Linked DNA regions of Homo sapiens: region 2 is linked to region 1. Evidence: promoter capture Hi-C in human tissues and cell types (Jung and others, 2019). All regions are on one chromosome and are shown on one strand. Each heading gives the region's core, a stretch centred on a gene start or on the middle of the fragment in contact. The rest is flanking DNA. Distances are from core to core; before and after follow the strand shown. Region 1 holds the start of DOK4 (docking protein 4). Region 2 overlaps RSPRY1 (ring finger and SPRY domain containing 1).

Region 1 (5,610 bases), core at 3,111-5,610:
GGATTACAGGCGTGAGCCACTGCGCCCGGCCTTCTTTTTCTTCTTTTGAGACAGTGTCCTGCTCTGTCACCCAGGCTGGAGTGCAGGGGTGCCATCACGGCTTACGGCAGCCTCAACCACCCAGGCTCAAGTGATCCACCCACCTCAGCCTCCTGAATAGCTGGGACCGCAGGTACATACCACCATGCCCAGCTAATTTTTAAAAACTTGTTTGTAGAGATGGGGCTTTTGTTTTTTTTTTTTTTTTTTTTTGAGACGGAGTCTCACTCTATTGCCCAGGCTGGAGTGCAGTGGCCCAATCTCGGCTCATTGCAAGCTCCGCCTCCCGGGTTCACGCCATTCTCCTTCCTCAGCCTCCCGAGTAGCTGGGACTACAGGAGCCCACCACCATACCCGGCTAATTGTTTCATATTTTTAGTAAAGACGGGGTTTCACCGTGTTAGCCAGGATGGTCTCGATCTCCTGACCTTGTGATCCACCCGCCTCGGCCTTCCAACGTTCTGGGATTACAGGCGTGAGCCACTGCGCCCGGCCCCTAGAGATGGGTTTTCACCATGTTGCCCAGGCTGGTCTTGAACTCCTGGGGTCAAGTGATCCACAAGGCTCGGCCTCCCTGAGTGCTGAGATTACAGGTGTGAGCAACTGCGCCTGGCCAGAGCTTCTGCCTTGAAAACTCCAAGGGCTGTGTGTATGTATATATATATAGTTTTCTTCAAGAGTTGCTGCCCAGACAGGGCGGTGAAACCACCAGAAGCCAGCCTGCTCCTTCCCAGTGTTGCCCCACCAGGGACTGTGGCCCCAAGCTCGCAGGAGTGCTCCTGCTGCGTCTGTCCATAGGCCCCACCCCGTCCCATACCCCAGGTCCCCAGCGGGAAGAGTGACCTTCACGGGGAAGGCTGGGTGCCAAAGTCCTGCCAGCTCACTCCGGCCCTGAGTCACAGGGACCCCTGGCCACACTTAGTCCCTAATGATGTTTGCAAGAGCAAGACCTAACCTAGGACCCAAAATGGTGGGCAAAGAGGGGTTCGGAAGGGGAGGGAAAGGTCAGGGCCAATAGGTGGACCCACAAATTTGACAGGCAGTGGGGTCAAGTGGTGAGGGGGGGGCCCAGAACCAACCCACCATCCTCCAGAAGGAATGCACTGTGTTAAGCAAGCGAGGCGGCCCCCAAGCTGAGCCTGTGAAGGCCCAATAGGACAGCAAGAAGTGGAGAGCAGACCAGGCACAGTGGCTCACACCTGTAATCCCAACACTTTGGGAGGCCAAAGTGGGAGGATCACTTGGGGCCAGGAGTTCAAGACCAGATCCGGCAACATAGAGAGACCCCGTCTCTACAAAAAATGAAAAAATAAGCTGGGCATGTGGCACGTGCCTGTAGTCACAGCTACTGGGGAGGCCGAGGTGGGAGGATCACTTGAGCTCAGGAATTCCAGGTAGCAGTGAGCTATGATCAAGCCACTGCACTCCAGCCTGGGTGATAGAGTGAGACTGTTTCTAAAAAATTTCAAAAAAATCAATTAAAAAAATACAAAAATTGGAGGGCAGCTGAGGCTAGGCAGGCCAGGAATTGGGTTGAAGTAGCCCCTGCCCTGTTTGTCCCTCAGGCCCTTGTCCCCAACAGGCCTGCAGCAGGAAGAATGCTTGCTACTTTGAGAGGACCTGAGGTCTTGGGTCCTTCCCCAGCACTGTGAGCTCCGAGCTCCCAGCTAAGCACGGTGTCCAGCAGTCGCTCTCAGGGTTCCAGTGAGGGAGGAGGGGAGCAAGGGCCCCCCGCATCCCACCTCCCAGCCTGGTACCAATACTGCTGCTTACCCAGGGACAGTACCTGCCTGGTGCCAGGCCACCACAGGTTTCCGCGCAGGGAGAGCCAGCTCCAAAATGCTCCTCTCCCCAGGAAGGGCTGGTGTCCTGGGGTGGCGGGGAGTAGGGAGACTCCCAGGGCCCTCACTGCCCACCTGCCCCACAGGGCAGCCATGCTGAGCACTCCCTCTCGCACATGGATTCTGCCTGGAGGCTTTGGCTCCAGAACAAACGCGCTGAGGCTGGCAACCAATGACTGAGCGAGCGGCTGCCTGCCTGGCTGGGCCTCCCCACCCCTGACAGATCGGATCTTATCAGGGCTGCAGGAACAGCCCTACCTGGACACCATCTCAGTGTCGTCTGGCTGTCTCGATCCAACGGCGAAGATTGGATCTGTGGGATTCTCTCCAGCACCAGAGCCATTTCCCATCACCTGCTGCTCTGCCCCCACCCCACCCCAAGATTGTTGTCAGAGGCCGGCTGGGAGTGCTCCCAACAGATCCCCATAGGGGCCACCGGCCAAAACATGGTGAGTCCCATCAAGGTGGATGGCAAAGACAGACCAAATACCCATCTAGGCAGACAGGGACGGCAGAAGGAGGGGACATCTGAACAGCCATGGTCCCCCAGACCCTTAAGCCAGGAGAGTAATGCTGTGGCCCCGTACCACTCTGGTTCTCCTGGGTCCCCTGCCCACCCCTCAACATGCCAAAACCCCTCCCTCGAGGGACCACTGCACTAGCTGTTTCCCACCTACAACATTGTTCCCTCACATGCTCATGGTTCATTCCATTGCTTCATCCACCTCCTCCAGGAGGCCTTCCCTGACTACCCTCACCAAAGGACCCCCACTAGTCAGCCTCTCTCACAACATCAGATGCGGCTGTCTTCATCGCACATCACCATGGGATTTTCTTGTTCTTACATCTGTCCATTTGTTTCTGGCCACAGAGAGACATCTGGAATGTCAGCTCCCTGGTGGCTCGGCCTCGTCTGTCTAGTTAACAGCTCTATCCCAGCTCCCAGAATGGTGCCCGGTGGGAAGGAGATGCTCAATATTTGGGGGCTGAACACGTAATTCTCTCCAGGACTTGTCCTCCTCCCCATCCTTTCTTCCACCACCACCAGCCTCCATCTGGCTGGACCTGGCTCAGCTTCCAGAGGTGCGTGAGCCACAGTGGGCTCCCAGCTCCTGGGTCTCAGCGCTGACTGGCATGGCCAGCAGGCTGTTGTTACTGGAGAACCAGCTGTGCCCAAGACCCGCAGTTTGGTTCAGAGCTGCCTCAGGGAAGAGCATGCTGCTGACATCGAGGCCAGGCCTAGTTGGGCGGCCCCACCTTGGCCAGGGTTGTGGGGTGAGGTCATGCCCAGCCCTGCTGCCCTGCCCAGGAGGGAAGTGCTGGGAGTAACCAGTACCAGCACAGCAAGGCAAGCAACTGGGGAGAGGAGGCACAGCTCCTGGGATCAGAGTTGGGGGTGGGGGCAGGAAGAGCCTGTACCAGCGCCACATCCCTCTGAAAGGGTCCAGGAAAGAACCTGCCCTAAGCAAGCCCACCTCACACTGCCCAAGTGGAGTCTCCTAGAGATACTGCCAGGCCCCTCGCTGCCCTGGCCATCAGACCCCTCCAACCCACACCCTCCATCCAAGCGGAAGCGCCCCAGCAACTGACGTGTCCCCATGGCTTGGGGCAGGCAGGCTGCACAGAGCCCCTGCTCTGCCACATCACCCAGGTGCCCAGCCTCGGCTCATGCCCCTTTTCAGTAATAGAAAGCATGTAACTGGATCTAGGGCCTTGCGGGCCCTGGGGGAGAAGGTGGACAGGACCTTGGGGGCCAATGGAGAAAGGTTCAAGGACAGGAGGCAGCTGGCCATGAGTTTGGGCTGTGGGGAGAAACCCCATAGGCAGGAGGGGGTCGGCAGTGGGGGCCAGCTGGGGTACAGAAAATCATCTCTTGGAATTTGGAGGAGGTGAGCGAACAGGAGGCCCCGGGGAGGAGCAGGAAGGCAGAGAGAAGGTTGGGAGCTGCCAGGGGCTGGGTTATGCCCCTTCCGGGGGGGCAGGCCCGGGAGCGCAGGGCCTGGGTTGCTCGGATGAGGTTTGTGTGGGTGCGGGTGAGGTCAGCTCGCGACCTGGGCTCCCCCGGAGAGGAAAGCTGCGGGTGGAGAGAGCGCAGGGAGTTTCAGGGCCCAGGCACTGGCTTTTGGGGGGCGGGTCTCTAAGCTCCCCACCCGAGAGTAGGAAGGTCCCATGGGACGGAGCGTCCTCAGGTTCAGGAAGTGACTGAGGGTCCTCAGGGGTGGGAGTCGCCGAGACTCTTGCAGGCTCTGGGCGGCCTATGTCCCCCTCCCTGCCTCACGCCCCCCAATTTACCTGGGCGCCGAGGCCCGGGCCAGGAGCGCCTGCTCAGCGGCGCCGCGGAGCAGGCTCATGCCCGCGTCACGGCGCGGCTGGCGGGGGCGGCAGGGCGGCGGCGGCGCCGGGCTCCAGGCGGGGACGGCGAGGGAGGCGCGGCCGCAGGGCTAGGGATCGGGCTCCGGCTGGGGCTCCGGCTGGGACTCCGCTCCGCTCCCCCCTCCGCCAGGTCTCGCCGCTGCGCCCCGCCCCCTGCCCCGCCCTGGCGGCCGGCCCCCGCCGTATTCCTCCGAGCCGCGGGACGCGCGATTCTGCCCTGGCGCCCTGGCACCCCCGCACCCGCTTCAGGTCGCCCCCGGTACCCCCAGCTCATTCCCACCGCCCCTCCCTGGGCCCCAAAGCCCACATGGCCTCTCAGCCCCTGAAAGCTGAACTCCACATCAGCTCCCAGCCCCCACATCTCAACCCCTTCACTTCTTCAGGAATCACATACACACCCATACGCCACATCAGCTCCCAGCCCCCATATCTCAATTCCTTCACTTCTTCAGGAATCACATACACACCCATTGCTCCCCTAACCCCATCATGACTCTCTGGGCCCTCACAGCCCAGCTCTCCCAGCCCCACAGTGACCTCCTCTGCTACCCCTCCTCAAGTAGCCGCACCAGCACCTCTGTCTTCCCTGGTCTCCTCTCCACCCTCAAAACATCCAGTTCTCCCATTCTAGGTCCCCCTGAGACTTTGCCCTCAAGCTCAAACTTCATTCCCCTTCATTGCTGCCCCCACCCAGCCCCCAACCCCCTCACCTCTGCCCTTCGGGCCTGTGCAGTGGTTGACTCACTGATCTGTCGGAATCCCCAGTCACAGGCCTCAGCTGTGCCAGGCAGGGACAAGAGAAGTTGCCCAGTGCCTCCTCTGGGGAGGAGCTGTCCCCCCTCTGGTTTTCACGTCTGTACCTTTTTACACCAGGGCTTCTCAAAGTGTAGTCCCTGGACCAGAAGCTTCCCATCACCTTGAAACTTGTTAGAAATGCAAATTCCCTGCCCTACTCAGACCTATGAAATCAGAATTTTTGGGGGTTTCCAGCAGAAATGTGTGTTTTAACAGGCCAGGTGATTCTGATGCACACGAATGTGTGAGAACCACTGCTTTAGACCATATATACAAAACAAAACAATAGGCCACCTGAACAGCCAAAATCCTGAGAAATGAAAATACCTCCACATCCAGCTACTGTCCAGGTGTCTCAGAGGAATAGGCCTAAAGCAGTGAGGGACCAAGGATCCCAACACCCACCCATGGAATGCATGCCCCTGCCCCGGAGACGCCTGGGCCTCAGCCTTGCCCAGGGAGCTTAAAAGGAGGCTGCCTCTGGATGTCTGAAAATTTCCCTGATGGTCATTGTGGTGTCTGTGATCAGCCTGAGCTAACCAGCCCCAGGCCCATGGCCAAG
Region 2 (5,610 bases), core at 1,908-4,407, 260 kb before region 1:
AATTGGAGGAAAAGGGCCAGTGGAGAGGTCAAGTCTGTACTCCTGTCTGGGGTGGAGAACTAGACCCCAGTCTGCCAATCATCTGATTCCCACAATAGCTTTTACTGTTACAATTTCCATTTCACAGATGAGAAAACTGAGACAGAGTAGGAAGAAACTCATACCAGAATTCAGTGGCCTTCCTATTCTACAACAGTTGTTTTCTTTGTATTCAAAAATGGGGAAAATCTCAGAGAATTAGCTAGTTTCCTCATTTGGAAGTGAAAAATTGTTCTAGAACTAGAAGTAATAGGGGATTCTTCCAGGGAGGAAGCTTCGATATAAAACTTGTCTCTCCTGATTTGGCAGCAAACACACTACAGATCTAGGTCTGGCACTGAATGTTACAAATGTGTTTTTTTAATGACCAGTGAAGCTGGATCATTTCATCTGCTCGATGAAATTATAACTTTTGCCATGTAGTTGCAGACCTTTGGCTTGTCAAGTTAAAGACTTAAATACTGTTTTTTTATCCTCCAGATCACTTGACAGGCTGTTGGTTTCTTTAAAAACAAACACTCTTCCCTGATCCAAGCATTAGGTGATTCCCTATTAGAAATTGATAAAGTCTGATACGATGTCTTTTCCCAAATACAGGATTTTAATGATGTTGCCATATTTAAAACTTTGCTTTAAATGTACATTGTTCTGGTGATTCTGAATCTTTTTGCCTATTCAGACAGGGTGTGATTCTATGGAGTAAGTCATTCCTAGGATACACCCAGTTTCAAAAGATTCTAAGTCTCTGCATAGTGCCTCTTACTTGAATTCTTGCTGCTTAGGTTTCCATTTTAAAAGGCTGGCCACTGGGCTCAATGTTAGGTCATTAAAATAAGCTTAAGGATAGTTCTGTTCAGGTAACCTACAGAACAGTTTGTCTTGTTGTATTGTATATTTTTATGGAGGCTTAGGAGGAGCAACTCTCCAAGGGTGTACTCTGATTTATCTAAAATATCTTTTGCCTTTTGGCCAGGCGCAGTGGCTCACACCTGTAATCCCAGCACTTTGGGAGGCTGAGGTGGGTGGATCACTTAAGGTCAGGAGTTTGACTGGCCAACATGGTGAAACCCCGTCTCTACTGAATATAAAAAATTAGCTGGGCGTGGTGGCGGGCGCCTGTAATCCCAGCTACTCGGGAGGCTGAGGCAGGAGAATTGCTGGAATATGGGAGGCAGAGGTTGCACTGAGCCCAGATAGTGCCACTGCACTCTAGCCTGGGCGATAGAGTGAGACTCTGTCTCAAAAATAAATAAATAAATAAATATCTTTTGCTTTTTTGTGAGTGTCTGTCATGTGACACTTTTGTGAGGTCTTTCACATATTTATCTTTAATCTTTTTGAGAGTTTGGAAAGGTATTATCCTGCCATTTAAAGATGAGGAAAATCAAGTTGAGAGAAATTAAGAAACTTCCCCAAAGCCATGTAGTCTCCAGCTGCTAGAGATTTCAGGCCAGGATAGCCCATGCTCCTTCCCCTGTTGAAGCATCTGCCTTCGAGAAAATGACTCTGGCTATCTCAGACAGAAAAGGAATGATTTAGAAGCCTTTCCGGAGCCTCCAGATTATGGAGAAGTTTTGGAACTAGACAGGCTCCAAGGCTGTCAGGGCCAAGAAACAGGAAGTACAATAGCCGGTGTTTTAGGGAAACGATCTGGCCAGCATGCAGCCACCATTGCTGCTGGAAATCCATCCTAACTATCCCTCTGTTTGGGGTCACTTGCACCATACTGAGTGTTTGATGGGAAGGTCCAGCTGGCCAAGCCTAGGTCATATCTTACCTTTCCACTTCCAAAGGAGGAGGCAGAACACTGTCTTCATACATTTCCCTTAACAGGAAACGGTTGGGATGCCCTACAGCAGGAAAAAGGAGAGTGTCCACCACGTGGGAAAGAGACTCAAACTATTCCCTGAATGACAAGCTGTGGATAAACTTTCTTTTGTTTGTATTTGGTAATGTTTCCATTGCTAAAATATGCATGACCAAAAAACAGGTAGTTCAAGATAAATACCAAGCTAACCACTCTATTCTCTCATTTATCTGTCCTAGCCAATGGAAACCAAAATTAATCCTGCTGGGAACATTTTGAGCTGAGAGAGGGTGTAGGACATCTAGGTTGTTCTCTGAGATGTAAGCTTAAGAGATTTTTAAAGTGCATCTCTGCTAGGCAGAGGCATCTTCTCCTTAAATCTGTAGATGCTGCTCTGTAGTTAAAGTTATTAGAGTTCCTTCTTTGTGCTACAGTGCCACTCTGTTGTGGAACTTATCCAGTCATCAAAGACATTGCATGGTAAAGAATGTGTAATGAGTCTGCTCTTTACCAACTCATGGTGGCTAGCTTCTAGGAATTTCTTTCAAGTGTTCTGTCAAGGACTTCTCAGGACATTAGAAGGTGAAGATAGAAAAGAATTGCTTGCCTTTTACTTATGCCACAATGCCTACATTTTAGTGGTTTTTAAGTTTTTTACTTACTGACTTGTTCAGCGTTTGAAAGGTGTGGCAAGGCATTCTTTCTAGCAAGTAGTGAATTTCTTTTGTTTTGTTTTGTTTTGAGACAGTCTCGCTCTGTCACCCAGGCCAGGGTGCAGTGGCACGTGATCTCTGCTCACTGCAACCTCTGCCTCCCAGGTTCAGGCGATTCTTGTGCCTCAGCCACCAGAGTAACTGGGATTATAGGTGTGCGCCACCACACCTGGATAATTTTTGTATTTTTAGTAGAGACAGGGTTTCGCCATGTTGGCCAGGCTGGTCTCAAATGCCTGGCCTCAAGTGATCTGCCCCCCAAAGTGCTGAAATTACAGGCATGAGCCACTGCTCTTGGCAGCCTTGGGTGGTGAATTTCTAAGGCAATTAGATGCAAGCTCATTTAACTCTTGAGTAGTCTGAATAGTGAATATCAATAGCTATTTCAGAAGAGTCACTTTGGAGAGCGTTCCTCCAAATTCAGTATGTTGTAATCCAAAAATCCAGTACAAAATCATTGTTGCATTCATCAGAACTTTTTTTCCAATCTCTCTCCTCACTGTATTGTTTGCCCCATAGAAGAAGCAGGCCATCAGGACCTGATCTTACTTGGATTTGGCCATTTTCAATTTCTTTCTCTAGTAAAACTTTTCACCATTGTTCCTTAAAGATAGCAGTTGTCTGATTTGCATGCTGCTTCTATTTTTTATAAGCACTCAAAATAATTTCTTAAGATCTCAGCCACCCTTTTATTTTAACAGTTCTGTGAAATAATTGAAAGGCAGTAAGTAACAAAAAGAAGAAACTGCCAGGCGCGGTGGCTCACGCCTGTAATCCCAGCACTTTGGGAGGCCGAGGCGGGCAGATCACCTGAGGTCTAGAGTTCGAGACCAGCCTGACCAACATGGAGAAACCCCGTCCCTACTAAAAATACAAAATTAGCTGGGCCTGGTGGCGCATGCCTATAATCCCAGCTACTCAGGAGGCTGAGGCAGGAGAATCGCTTAAACCCGGGAGGCAGAGGTTGTGGTGAGCCAAGATCGCGCCATTGCACTCCAGCCTAGGCAACAAGAGTGAAACTCCATCTCAAAGAAAAAAAAAGAAGAAACTGCCAAGGACCTGTACAATCCTCAAATCAAGCTGATTTCAGAATAGCTTTTAGCTGAGTGTCCACTATAACCTTTCTCTTATCTCCAGTTTTGAAATCTCTGAATATTTGGGTATTTTGAAGTCTGCTACATGCAAGAAAGGTATTTGCCTGATCTGATCTTGTTACTGGAAAGGGTCTGGATCCAGATCCCAAGAGAGGGTTTTTGGACCTCGCGCAAGAAAGAATTTGGGGCGAATCCATAGAATAAAGTGTTTTCACAAGTTTATTAAAGAAACAGAAGAATGGCTACTCTATAGGCAGAGCAGTGGCGTGGGCTGCTCAACTGAGTATACTTAGTTATTTCTCGATTATATGCTAAACAGGGATGGATTATTCATGAGTTTTCTGGGAAAGGGACAGGCAATTCCTGGAACCAAGGGTTCCTCTCCTTTTTAGACTATATAGGGTAACTTCCAAACTGCCATGACATTGTAAAGTGTCATGGCACCTGTTAGAGTGTCTTTTAGCATGCTAATGCATTATAATTAGCATATAATGAACAGTGAAGATGACCAGAGGTCACTTTTGTTGCCATCTTGGTTTTGGTGGGTTTTGGCCAGCTTCTGGCTGGCTTCTTTATTGCATCCTGTTTTATCAGCAGGGTCTTTGTGACCTGTATCTTGTGCTGACCTCCTGTCTCATCCTGTGACTAAGAATGCCTAACCTCTTGGGAATGCAGCTGAGCAGCCCAGCAAGTCTAAGCCTCATTTTACCCTGCCCCTATTCAAGATGGAGTCTCTCTGGTTTGAATGCCTCTGACAATCTTGTGCTGATATACAAGTGTACTGACTGATCTTGGAATCAGAAGAATTTAGGTTCAAACCTGGCTCTGTTTCTTGGGCAAGTAATATATGCTTGGGCAAGCTGGTTGACCTCTTTGAGCCTTTGTTTCCTCTTAAAATGGAGTCTGATGCCACCAGCCTCATGATAATGTTAGTGAGAATTAAATGAACTAACAAATGTGAAAGTGCCTGAACAAAGGAGGCACTGGGAAAATATTTGTTGGTGAAGTCATTATCTATTCACTTGGAACCAGCCCTCTAAGTCATAATTTTAGTATTTTCAAAAAACCATGAGCTCTCTCATCATCCAGAAAGCTTAGAATCCCAGCCATTAGGTCAGTGGTCGTAAAAGACACACTCTCTGTTCCCAGGTCAGAGCAGGCAGACTTGCTAATCTTCTGGGCCTTGTCTCTCTCCAGGAAGGCTACGGCATTGGGGATGATGAATACTCCTGTGCGTATGATGGCTGCCGGCAGCTGATTTGGTACAATGCCAGAAGTAAGCCTCACATACACCCATGCTGGAAAGAAGGTATTCATTCCCTCCATTATAAATTTATCAAGTGGGTTAAGACATCTGGTTATTATGAGGCATTTATTACATTAAGCCTTAAAATGTCTTAGGAGAAGATCAAATGTGAAAAGGGATATTAACTTTTGTGTCACTGCCAAGGATATAAATGGTATTCCTCTGATAAATTTACCTCTGGTGGAGTTCTTCCTGTAGCAAAAACATTTCAGAAAATAAATTTTTTACATTTGTCAGAAAATGATACTCAAGATTAGTATGAATTCTATTTTCCTCTTTGGATCTGTTTTGAATTAAAGCAGCCATGGCAATATCAGGGACACTGGAATTGTAATGCCACTAAAATGAGGATTTTTCAGGGACAAGATGGCTATGGAACAGGTCCTATCCAGTGGCCACGCTCTAAGGAAGTAGGGTCATATGGTAGAGGATATAACCTCTGGAAGGATTTGATTCCTAGCATCAGAGCTAGATAGAGGATATAACCCAACTCTTTCTCCAAGCATCCCTCTCTCATTTTGCTACCCCAATCAGCATTATGGATATAAACTGAATTTTTAGGCATGCTAAGAAAGCAGAAATTTAGGCTGAGGCAGGTGGATTGCTTGAAGTCAGGAGTTCAAGACCAGCCTGGCCAACATGGTGAAACCT

Evidence for each region. Contacts are between HindIII fragments. The study calls those that stand out against the background at their distance.
Region 2: a contact is called between a fragment that was not itself captured here and the fragment with the promoter of DOK4 in region 1, in 2 of the 25 tissues and cell types used here (lymphoblastoid cells and spleen).

What each region holds. Positions count from the first base shown.
Region 1 is chr16:57,482,133-57,487,742 of GRCh38, forward strand. It overlaps DOK4 (docking protein 4), which reads right to left and starts at 4,361. Exons shown (of 9, transcript NM_018110.5): 1 at 4,173-4,361. RefSeq lists an enhancer at 3,614-4,410 and a silencer at 4,242-4,541. The HindIII fragment of the contact is 12,171 bases long and covers 1-5,610 here.
Region 2 is chr16:57,222,492-57,228,101 of GRCh38, forward strand. RSPRY1 (ring finger and SPRY domain containing 1) reads left to right here. Exons shown (of 15, transcript NM_133368.3): 11 at 4,851-4,962. Among named protein-coding and RNA genes, the nearest start is that of ARL2BP, 20 kb to the right of the region's middle. The HindIII fragment of the contact is 5,127 bases long and covers 595-5,610 here.